Linked DNA regions of Homo sapiens: region 1 is linked to region 2. The links are contacts of gene promoters, found by promoter capture Hi-C in human tissues and cell types (Jung and others, 2019). All regions are on one chromosome and are shown on one strand. Each heading gives the region's core, a stretch centred on a gene start or on the middle of the fragment in contact. The rest is flanking DNA. Distances are from core to core; before and after follow the strand shown.

What was found. The method cuts DNA at HindIII sites, captures the fragments that hold promoters and counts their contacts. A contact is called where the count stands out against the background at its distance.
Region 1: a contact is called between a fragment that was not itself captured here and the fragment with the promoter of PCGF3 in region 2, in 1 of the 25 tissues and cell types used here (lymphoblastoid cells).

What each region holds. Positions count from the first base shown.
Region 1 is chr4:346,918-351,341 of GRCh38, forward strand. All of the region lies in intron 3 of ZNF141 (zinc finger protein 141), which reads left to right. It overlaps MIR571 (microRNA 571), which reads left to right and starts at 3,240; the gene lies at 3,240-3,335. The HindIII fragment of the contact is 5,531 bases long and covers 115-4,424 here.
Region 2 is chr4:702,675-707,580 of GRCh38, forward strand. PCGF3 (polycomb group ring finger 3) reads left to right here and starts at 3,158. Exons shown (of 11, transcript NM_006315.7): 1 at 3,158-3,296. RefSeq lists enhancers at 1,178-1,905, 2,946-3,931, 3,932-4,906 and a silencer at 2,881-3,580. The HindIII fragment of the contact is 34,476 bases long and covers 1-4,906 here.

The DNA of each region.
Region 1 (4,424 bases), core at 1,630-4,129, 360 kb before region 2:
TGTAAACGGTACTACAATAAACATGGAGGGGAAGATAGTTCTTTGAGGTACTAATTTTATTTCCTTTGGTAGTATGCCCAGAAGTGGTATTGCTGGATTATATGATACTTCTAGTTTTATTCTTTTTTTTTTTTTTTGAGATGGAGTTTCACTCTTGTTGCCCAGGCTGGAGTGCAGTGGCACGCTGTTGGCTCACCACAGCCTCTGGGTCCTGGGTTCAAGCAATTCTCCTGCCTCAGCCTCCGAAGTAGCTGGAATTACAGGCATGTACCACCATGCCTGGCTAATTTTGTATTTTTAATAGAGACGGAGTTTCTCCACGTTGGTCAGGCTAGTCTCGAACTCCCGACCTCAGGTGATCCACCCGTCTCAGCCTCCCAAAGTGCTGGGATTACAGGAGTGAGACACCACGCCCGGCCAAGTTTTTTTTTTTTTTTTTTGAGACTGAGTCTCTCTCTGTCGCCCAGGCTGGAGTACAGTGGCAGGATCTCGGCTCACTGCAAGCTCCGCCTCCTGGGTTCACGCCATTCTCCTGCCTCAGCCTCCCGAGTAGCTGGGACTACAGGCGCCTTCCACCACACCCAGCTAATTTTTTGTATTTTTAGTAGAGACAGGGTTTCGCTGTGTTAGCCAGGATGGTCTTGGTCTCCTGATCTCATGATCCGCCTGCCTCGGCCTCCCAAAGTGCTGGGATTACAGGCGTGAGCCAAGGAGCCCGGCCGCGCCCAGCCTAGTTTTATTCTTTACTGTATTTTTGTAAGTTTATCAATTTGCATCTCACCACCAGCATACAAGATTTCCCTTGTATGTATTTCTTCTTTGGGAAAAAAAAAAAATCTAACCTTTTGCCTATTTTCGAATGGGTTATTCATTATTATTGTTTTGCTTTTTTGCTTTGAATTGCAGAAGTTTGTTACACATTTTGGATATTAACTTTTTTTTTTTTTTGGAGACAGAATTTCTGTCGCCCGAGCTGAAGTGCAGTGGCACGATCTTTGCTCACTGCAACCTCTGTCTCTCGGGTTCAAGCGATTCTCCTGCCTCAGCCTCCCGAGTAGCTGGGATTACAGGCACGTGCCACCATGCCCAGCTAATTTTTTGTATTTTTAGTAGAGACGAGGTTTCACTGTGTTAGCCAAGATGGTCTCGATCTCCTGATCTCATGATCTGCCTGCCTCGGCCTCCCAAAGTGCTGAGATTACAGGCCTGAGCCACCACACCCAGCTGGATATTAACTTATCAGATATGGCTTGCAAATGCTTTTCTATTTTGTAGGGTTTTTAAAAATTTTGTTTTTATTTTTTCCTTTGATGTGCAGAGGCTGTTTACTTTGATGCAGTCTCACTTGTTTATATTTTATTTTGTTGCTGTGCTGTTGATGTCATTTCAAAAAAAGTTATTGCCGAGACCAATATCAACAAGGTTTTTCCATATGTTTTCTTCATGAGTTTTAAGATTTCATGTCTTAATTTCAGTCTTTGTTTTGAAGTCTGAAATTAGAAAGCATGATGCCTGCCAGACAAGGTGGCTCACACCTGTAATCCCAGCACCTTGGGAGGCCGAGGTGGGCGGATCACTTGAGATCAGGAGTTCAAGACTAGCCTGGCCAATATGGTGAAACCCTGTCTCTACTAAAAATATACAAAAACTAGCTAGGGGTGGTAGTGGGCGCTTGTAATCCCAGCTACTCGGGAAGCTGAGGCAGGAGAATCACTTGAACCCAAGAGGCAGAGGTTTCAGTGAGCCTAGATCACTGAACCTAGATTGTGCCACTGCACTCCAGCCTGGGTGACAGAGCTGGACTCCATCTCAAAAAAAAAAAAAAAACAAGTATGATGCCCCCAGCTTTGTTCTTTCTCAAGATTGATTGCTCAGGTTATTAAAAGTCGTTTAAGGTTACACCTAAATTTTACAATTGTGTTTTCTATTAGTGTGAAAAATGCCAATAAAATTTTGATAGGGATCACATTGAATCTATAGATCACTTTGGATAATATTCTTTGACAATATTAGTTATCCTAATGGAATATGTTTCCATTTATTTGTTTCTACTTCACTTTCTGTCATTGATATCTTATTGTATTTAGTGTATAATACTATATGTTTTTTATGTCATTTGGTTAAATTTATTTTGATTAACTTTCTTATTTTTATACTATTGCAAATGGAAATGGTTTCTATTTTTGGAAAGTTTGTTTTTACTCTATGGAAATGCAAGAAATATTTGTATGTGGTGCCAGGTGCAGTGGCTCATTTCTGTGATCCCAGCACTTTCAGAGCCCAAGGCAGTTGTATCATGTGAGTACAGGAGTTTGAGATAAGCCTGGGCAATAGAGTGAGGCCCTGTCTCAAAAAAAAAAAAATCCCAACAAGCATCTATATGTTGATTATGTATCCTGATACTTTAATGAATGCATTTATTAGTTCAATCAATTTTTCTTATTTTACTCTAGGGTTTTATGTATATGCATGATGATATTATCCACAAACAGTAACTTTTTTATTTCTTTTCCACTCTGGAGAGCTTTATTCTCCTTTTCCTTGTCTAATTGTTTTGATACAAACTTCCAGTCACATGTTAAGATAGAAGCTGTGGCCCTGGAGGCAGGCCTGCAAGTCTTGTCCCCGGCTGTGGTCTCTGAAGCAGCCCTGTGTCTGCATTTGACAAATTTCACAGTTTGTATAAACTATTTTTGGCAGGTAAAGATCTCCTTTTGTTGAGTCCCAGGCTGATGAGATTACCTCTGGGGTTGCAGAGAAGAAGGGTTGTAGCTGGGTCACAAGGGTGCTGCTGGGTCTGCTGTGGGGTCTGCCTTTGATGATTGTATTACCAGAGATTTGGACAGTCATGGATTATTTCTGGGCCCTGGAGAGATTAGATTTCCTTGAGGATATTAATCTATATGGCAGGCAGTAGACTAGGGTTTTGAAGTTTGTCTGCATATGATGGGCCAAATACCAGGTGTATGAATGGGTTTGGCTTCTACTGACAACCTGGGAACAGTTTCCACACTTTTCTCTTTGGGTCCCTGATTGTGTACAACTGGCCATGGACTGTGACTGTGAGGGCTAGAACTGAGTCACAGGGCTCAGGAGCACAGCTGAGGCCAGGATATACAGGCCTGCCTCCAGGGCCATGGCTGGGTGTGTATCTCCCTGCAGGTCTCTTGATGGGAAGGACCACGTCTGGACTGTAGCTGAGATTGAATTTGAGAGAGGTTACAGAACTGCTTCAGAATCCTCAGTAAGACCAAGCTCAGTGTGCCATTTCCTTGTCTGTAGCCATGTCTATGGGCTCTTGAGTTGGCCATCTGAGTGAGGGCCTGCTTATTCTAAATAACCCTCGATCTCTGGCTCCACTGAGGTTTCACAACCCTAACCATAGGCAAGCACCTTTCTACTTCTGCTTTCTATGTGCTTACTACTTAAAATATTGTATAAAAATGGAATCATGCATTGTCACTTTGTTAGCGTCTTATTTCACTAAAATAATGGCCTCAGGATTTATCCTTATTGTAGCATCTGACAAGACATTTTCATTTGAAGCTAAAGAATATTTCATTGCGTGTATAAGCCACATCTTTTAAAATCTTTCATTCATTGAAGGATGTTTGAATTTTTTCACTTTTTCACTTTTGTAAATTATACGGTTTGGATCTATGTCCCCATTCAAATCTCATGTCAAATGTAATCCCTATTGTTGGAGGTGGGGCCTTGAGGGAGATGATTGGATCGTAGGGTTGGCTTTTCATGAATAGTTTAGTACCAGCCCCTTTGGTACTGTCTTTGCCATAGTGAGTGAGTTCTCCCGAGATCTTATTTTTTATTTATTTATTTTTTGAGATGGAGTCTCGCTCTGTGGCTCAGGCTGGAGTGCAGTGGCATGATCTCGGCTCACCGCAAGCTCCACCTCACGGGTTCATGCCATTCTCCTGCCTCAACCTCCAGAGTAGCTGGGATTACAGGTGCTTGCCACCATGCCCGGCTAATTTTTTGTACTTTTTTTTTTTTTTAGTAGAGACGGGGTTTCACCATGTTAGCCAGGATGGTTTGGATCTCCTGACCTCATGATCCGTCCACCTCAGCCTCCCAAAGTGCTGGGATTACAGGCGTGAGCCACCGCGCCCGGCCTGAGATCTTATTTTTTAAAAGCATGTGGCACCTCCCCTCTCACTCTTGTCTTGCTCCTGTTCCCACTGTGTGAGATGACTCACTCTCCCTTTGCTTTGTGCCGTGACTGGAAGCTTTCTGAGGCCTCCCCAAAAGTAGAAGCTGCTGTGCTTCCTGTACAGCCTTCAGAACTATGAGCCAGTTAAACCTTTTTTTTTTTTTTTGAGACAGAGTCTCGCTCTGCCACTCAGGCTGGAGTACAGTGGCGCGATCTCGGCTCACTGCAATGTCCGCCTCCCAGGTTCAACTTATTC
Region 2 (4,906 bases), core at 1,908-4,407:
GGGTGGAGTGAGCTTGGGGAAACAGGCAGAGGTGGGAGCAGGGACCTCAGAGGACGTCCTTATCATCACGCGCTGGGTGGAGCGCTCCCACTTGGGTGTGACGGGACCCGCTGGTTGGCTGCTCTGTTGAGGATTGACTGGGGGTGGGGGGCCCAAGGCTGTGGCACCAGTTCCAGCAGGACAGGGCGGGTTTGGGCCAGAGCAGCCTTGGAAAGCCATGGTTGGATGATGGGAAGTTTCCAAGACAGAGCTGGCAGGACTTTCTGATGAAAACAGAAGAGAGCAATTGGGAACAAGACCACATGTCTGTACCCCAGCAACAGAAAGGGTGGTGACAAAGGCAGTTGGATTTACCCCACAAAGTCCTGGAGCATTTGGTTGAGACATGGGGGTAGGCGCAGATGCCTGATGTGCTTAAGAGAGAACTCGGGGAGGGAAATTGGAGAAAGAGTTCCTGAAGAGTGACGCTGTGAAGACAGCAGAGAAGCACAGGGTCCAGCGAGCTCTTTCTGTTCTGCTCCATCCTCAAGGATGGGCAGACCCTCTGCCAGTTTGTGAGTGACCAGAATGATCTGCCAGAGAGGCACCCAATGGCCCTAGGAGGCCCTAGTGACTGGGTGGGCAGGGAGGGCGGACCGGCACCCTGGGGAAGGTTGGGGCACCCTCTGGGGGGGACAGGGGCCTCCCCTCTACTCCAGTCTGCTTGTGCCATGATTCCTGCCTCCCTTCTTTACAGCTCTGCTAAGGAATACGTGCCTGTATGTAATATGTGCACACCCCGAACTCACACCAGGACAGCACACACTGCCAACACCCTAGGCTTCTTTGGCCCCGATGCCTCCACCCTCGGGCCTTGGCTGAGTGAGGTCCCAGGAGGGTGCAGGTGGGAGACCTGGCTGGCTGCCGATGGGCCATGGATGGCCAGTTTGGGCATGAGAGGAAGAGGGTGCAGAGGACTCTGGGGTCTTGCCTCAGGACTGGCGGTGGGGGGTGGGGGGTCCTGGGGTACACAGCAGACTCAGGATGGCCTGGGGAAGCCATCCGGCCATGTGGCATTTAAGCTTCCTAATGACATTCAGCAGAAACAGAGCTGGACACAAGAGCCCAGGGCTCAGAGTCAAGGTCCGGGCACCGCTGGCACCCACCCAGGAGAGTAGTGGGAAGCCTAGGGGTAGGGTCTGCACCTCCTTGAGGAGGGGCCTGGGGCCTGGAGTGAGTTCTGAACTGCAGCTTACCACTCTGCCTCTTCCTGAGGCCACCACACTCAGCCCAGGACTGTTCCTGGCCTGCTGGCCACCCCCTGCCCCTTGCACCCCAGCACCAATACCTTGCCCCTGCCCTCCTTCTGGGATGATCCTCCAGTCCTCCCCTCCACATCTGGGGCCTGCCTCCACCAACTGAAAACTGCAGTCAGGGCTCTTGTGGAGGGCCAGCACCCCAGTACCCCAATCCCAGGCAGCCCTCTCCAGTGGGCCCCTCCCCTGCACTGGGCCACCCCATGGCTCCACGGAGCCCTCCCTGCCTCCCCTCCCCCGGGGGCAGCAGTGGCCACATTTAGTCCCTCCCCTTCACAGCAGCATGCCTGGGAATGCTGTACACATTCACATGTCTGCTGTCTGTCCTCCTCCCACCCGGATAACGTGTCCACCCAGTGCTGGAGATCTCAGCAGGCCCCCAGCCCTTCTCAGGCCCCTCTCAGCAGCGGACTCAAGCCGCTTCCCCACGTGCTGCACCATACCTGGGCCCGGGGCCCCCTGCCTGGTGGCTGCTCCCGGGGTCCAACTCTAGACTTCACGGGGACAGTCGCAGGGTCACTCCCTCAGCCACCACCTCTCCAGACGGGACGAGCTAATGACTCCCGACTCCTGCTCCATGCCTGCACCGCACAGCCTCGCAGCGAGTGCCCCTGGGCCTACGGGGCCTCCCCTCTCGCCACCAAGCCTCCACACTGCGCGGTGCCCCGCCGCCCGGAACCACAGTGGTCTCGCTTCCCACCCAAGACCCAACCTGCCCTCCCGTCCTGGGCCGCCAGCCCAGAACCCGCAAACCGGGAGACCCTAGGACCCCGCGTGCCTGCACGTCCGCCTCACCCCCGCACGCGCCCTCGGTCCTCGGATCCCGCCCTCTCAGGACAGTGCCAGTCCCACGAAGGCGCAAATGCCGCCCGTACTGCTCCACCCTGGCGGAGGGCACCCAGGTCGGAGAGTCCGCACGTGGGTGCCCTGTCCGTCCTGATGCTGAACATAACCTAAATACAAGCCTAAACATGACCAGACCCGAACCCCTGACCCTGACCCCACCCCTAATCCTGACCCTAACCCTAAACCCAACCCTAACCCTAAACCTAACCCCTAACTCTGACCCTACCCCTAATCCTGACCCTAACCGTAAAACCAACCCTAACCCTAACCCCTAATGCTGACCCTAACCCTAAATCCAGTCCTAACCCTGACTCTAACCCTAACCCTGACCCTAACCCTAAAACCCAACCCTAACCCTAACCCTGACCCTAACCCTAAACCCAACCCTAACCCTAGACCAGACCCTAACCCCTGACCCTGACCCCACCCCTAATCCTGACCCTAACCATAAACCCAACCCTAACCCTAACCCCTAATGCTGACCCTAGCCCTAAACCCAGTCCTAACCCTGACTCTAACCCCTAACCCTGACCCTAAACCTAAACCCAACCCTAACCCTGACTCTGACCCCTAACCCGACCCCTGACCCTAACACCGACCCTTAACCCTGCCGGGAGGGCGCTCAGTCCCGGCTCCCACAAAGGACAGCAGCACCCGTACTGGACGGCACCCCCGGAGGGACCCGGGCCTGAGGACTCTGCTGCTCCAGCGCCCCAGCTCACGATCGTCCAGGACCCGTCGGGTCCCTCAGCACAGCGCGGCCCTGTCGCTCTCCTGACCACGCCCCTCATGGCCCCGCCCTATGCCTCGCCCCTGGCCCTCGCGCCCCGCGGCTCCCTCCGCCGAGTCCAGGCCCGACGCGCCTGCGCCCTCTGAACACGCCCCTCCCCGCCCCTATCCCCACCCCTTACCGCCTGGCCCCGCCCACGCCCCTTGCCGCGGGGTGGGAGCCCAGACGCACACCGCGCATGCTCCGAGCGCGGCGCCCCCGACGCGGCGCTCGGCTCGGCTCGGGCATTTCCGCCTCTTTGTTTTAAACTCCGGACGGGCTTTTTTCTCCTCCTCTTGGGGGGGACCCAGAGGGAGCGGCGCCCCCTCCCCCCTCCGGCGCGGACCCCGCGTGCGCCTTGCTCGCCCGCAGCCCCGAGACCGCAGGTCAGTGAGTCCGCCCCGCCTGGCCTGGGCCCTCGGCGCCCGCTCCTCAGGCTGCGGCCTCGGCCCGTGTCCGGCCCGGAAGGCTCCGAACCCCGGGCCCGCGCTCCGTCGTCCCCGTCGGCCTGGCCCGGGAAGCCCTTGGCAGGCCCGGGAGGGCCGGCACCCCAGCCCAGTCAGGACTCCGGGAGGTCGAAGACCCCAGCCCAGGCAGGACTCCGGGAGGGCCAAGAGCCCAGCCCAGGCAGGACCCCGGGAGGGCTGGGACTCCAGCCTAGGCAGGACGCAGGGAGGGCAAGACCCCAGCCCAGGCAGGACTCCGGGAGGTCGAAGACCCCAGCCCAGGCAGGACCCAGGGAGGGCTGGGACAGCAGCCCAGGCAGGACGCAGGGAGGGCAAGACCCCAGTCCAGGCAGGACGCAGGGAGGGCAAGACCCCAGCCCAGGCAGGACTCCGGGAGGTCGAAGACCCCAGCCCAGGCAGGACCCAGGGAGGGCAAAGACCCCAGAACAGGGAGGGCCAAGACCCCAGACCAGGCAGGACCCCGGGAGGGCCAAGACCCCAGACCAGGCAGGACCCAGGGAGGGCGAAGACCCCAGCCCAGGCAGGACCGCGGGAGGGCAGGGACCCCAGACCAGGCAGGACCCCGGGAGGGCCAAGACCCCAGACCAGGCAGGACCCAGGGAGGGCGAAGACCCCAGCCCAGGCAGGACCGCGGGAGGGCAGGGACCCCAGACCAGGCAGGACCCTGGGAAGGTCGCGACCCCAGCCCAGGCAGGACCCAGGGAGGGCGAAGACCCCAGACCAGGCAGGACCCAGGTGAGGGCGAAGACCCCAGCCCAGGCAGGACCGCGGGAGGGCAGGGACCCCAGACCAGGCAGGACCCTGGGAAGGTCGCGACCCCAGCCCAGGCAGGACCCAGGGAGGGCGAAGACCCCAGACCAGGCAGGACCCAGGTGAGGGCAAAGACCCCAGCCCAGGCAGGACCGCGGGAGGGTAGGGACCCCAGCCCAGGCAGGACCCTGGGAAGGTCGCGACCCCAGCCCAGGCAGGACCCCGGGAGGGCTGGGTCTTCAGACCAGGCAGGACCTGAAGAGAGTTGGGCTCTGGGATTGCACAGGACCCCCAGAGTGCTAGGACACAATGACACATCATCCAGGAGGGTCTGACCCTGGGACAGGTCACCGAGAAGGGCTGGGACCCCAAGATGGGTCACCAAGGAGGGTCGGACCTGGCCACCTGGCAGGGCCCGGGGGGGCTAGGACCCTGGGAAGAATCACGGAGGAGGGCCAGACGTAGGGACCAGGCAGAATCCAAAGAATGCCAGGACCCCAGAATAGATCCCCCAGGAAGGTCCTGCCTTAAAGTGGGTCACAGACGAGGGCCAGGACCCCATGACCATAATTCAGGAGGACCTGACCCTGGAGCAGTCTTGTGAGTCCTGTGAGCACTGCTGGGACCCTGAGACTGCCCCGTCTCCCCCGGGACCCTGAGACAGCCCTGTTTTCCCCTGGGGGCCGGGACCCTGGGACAGCCTGTTTTCACCCGGGGGCCGGGACCCTGGGACAGCCCTGTTTTCCCCTGGGGGTCGGGACCCTGGGACAGCTCTGTTT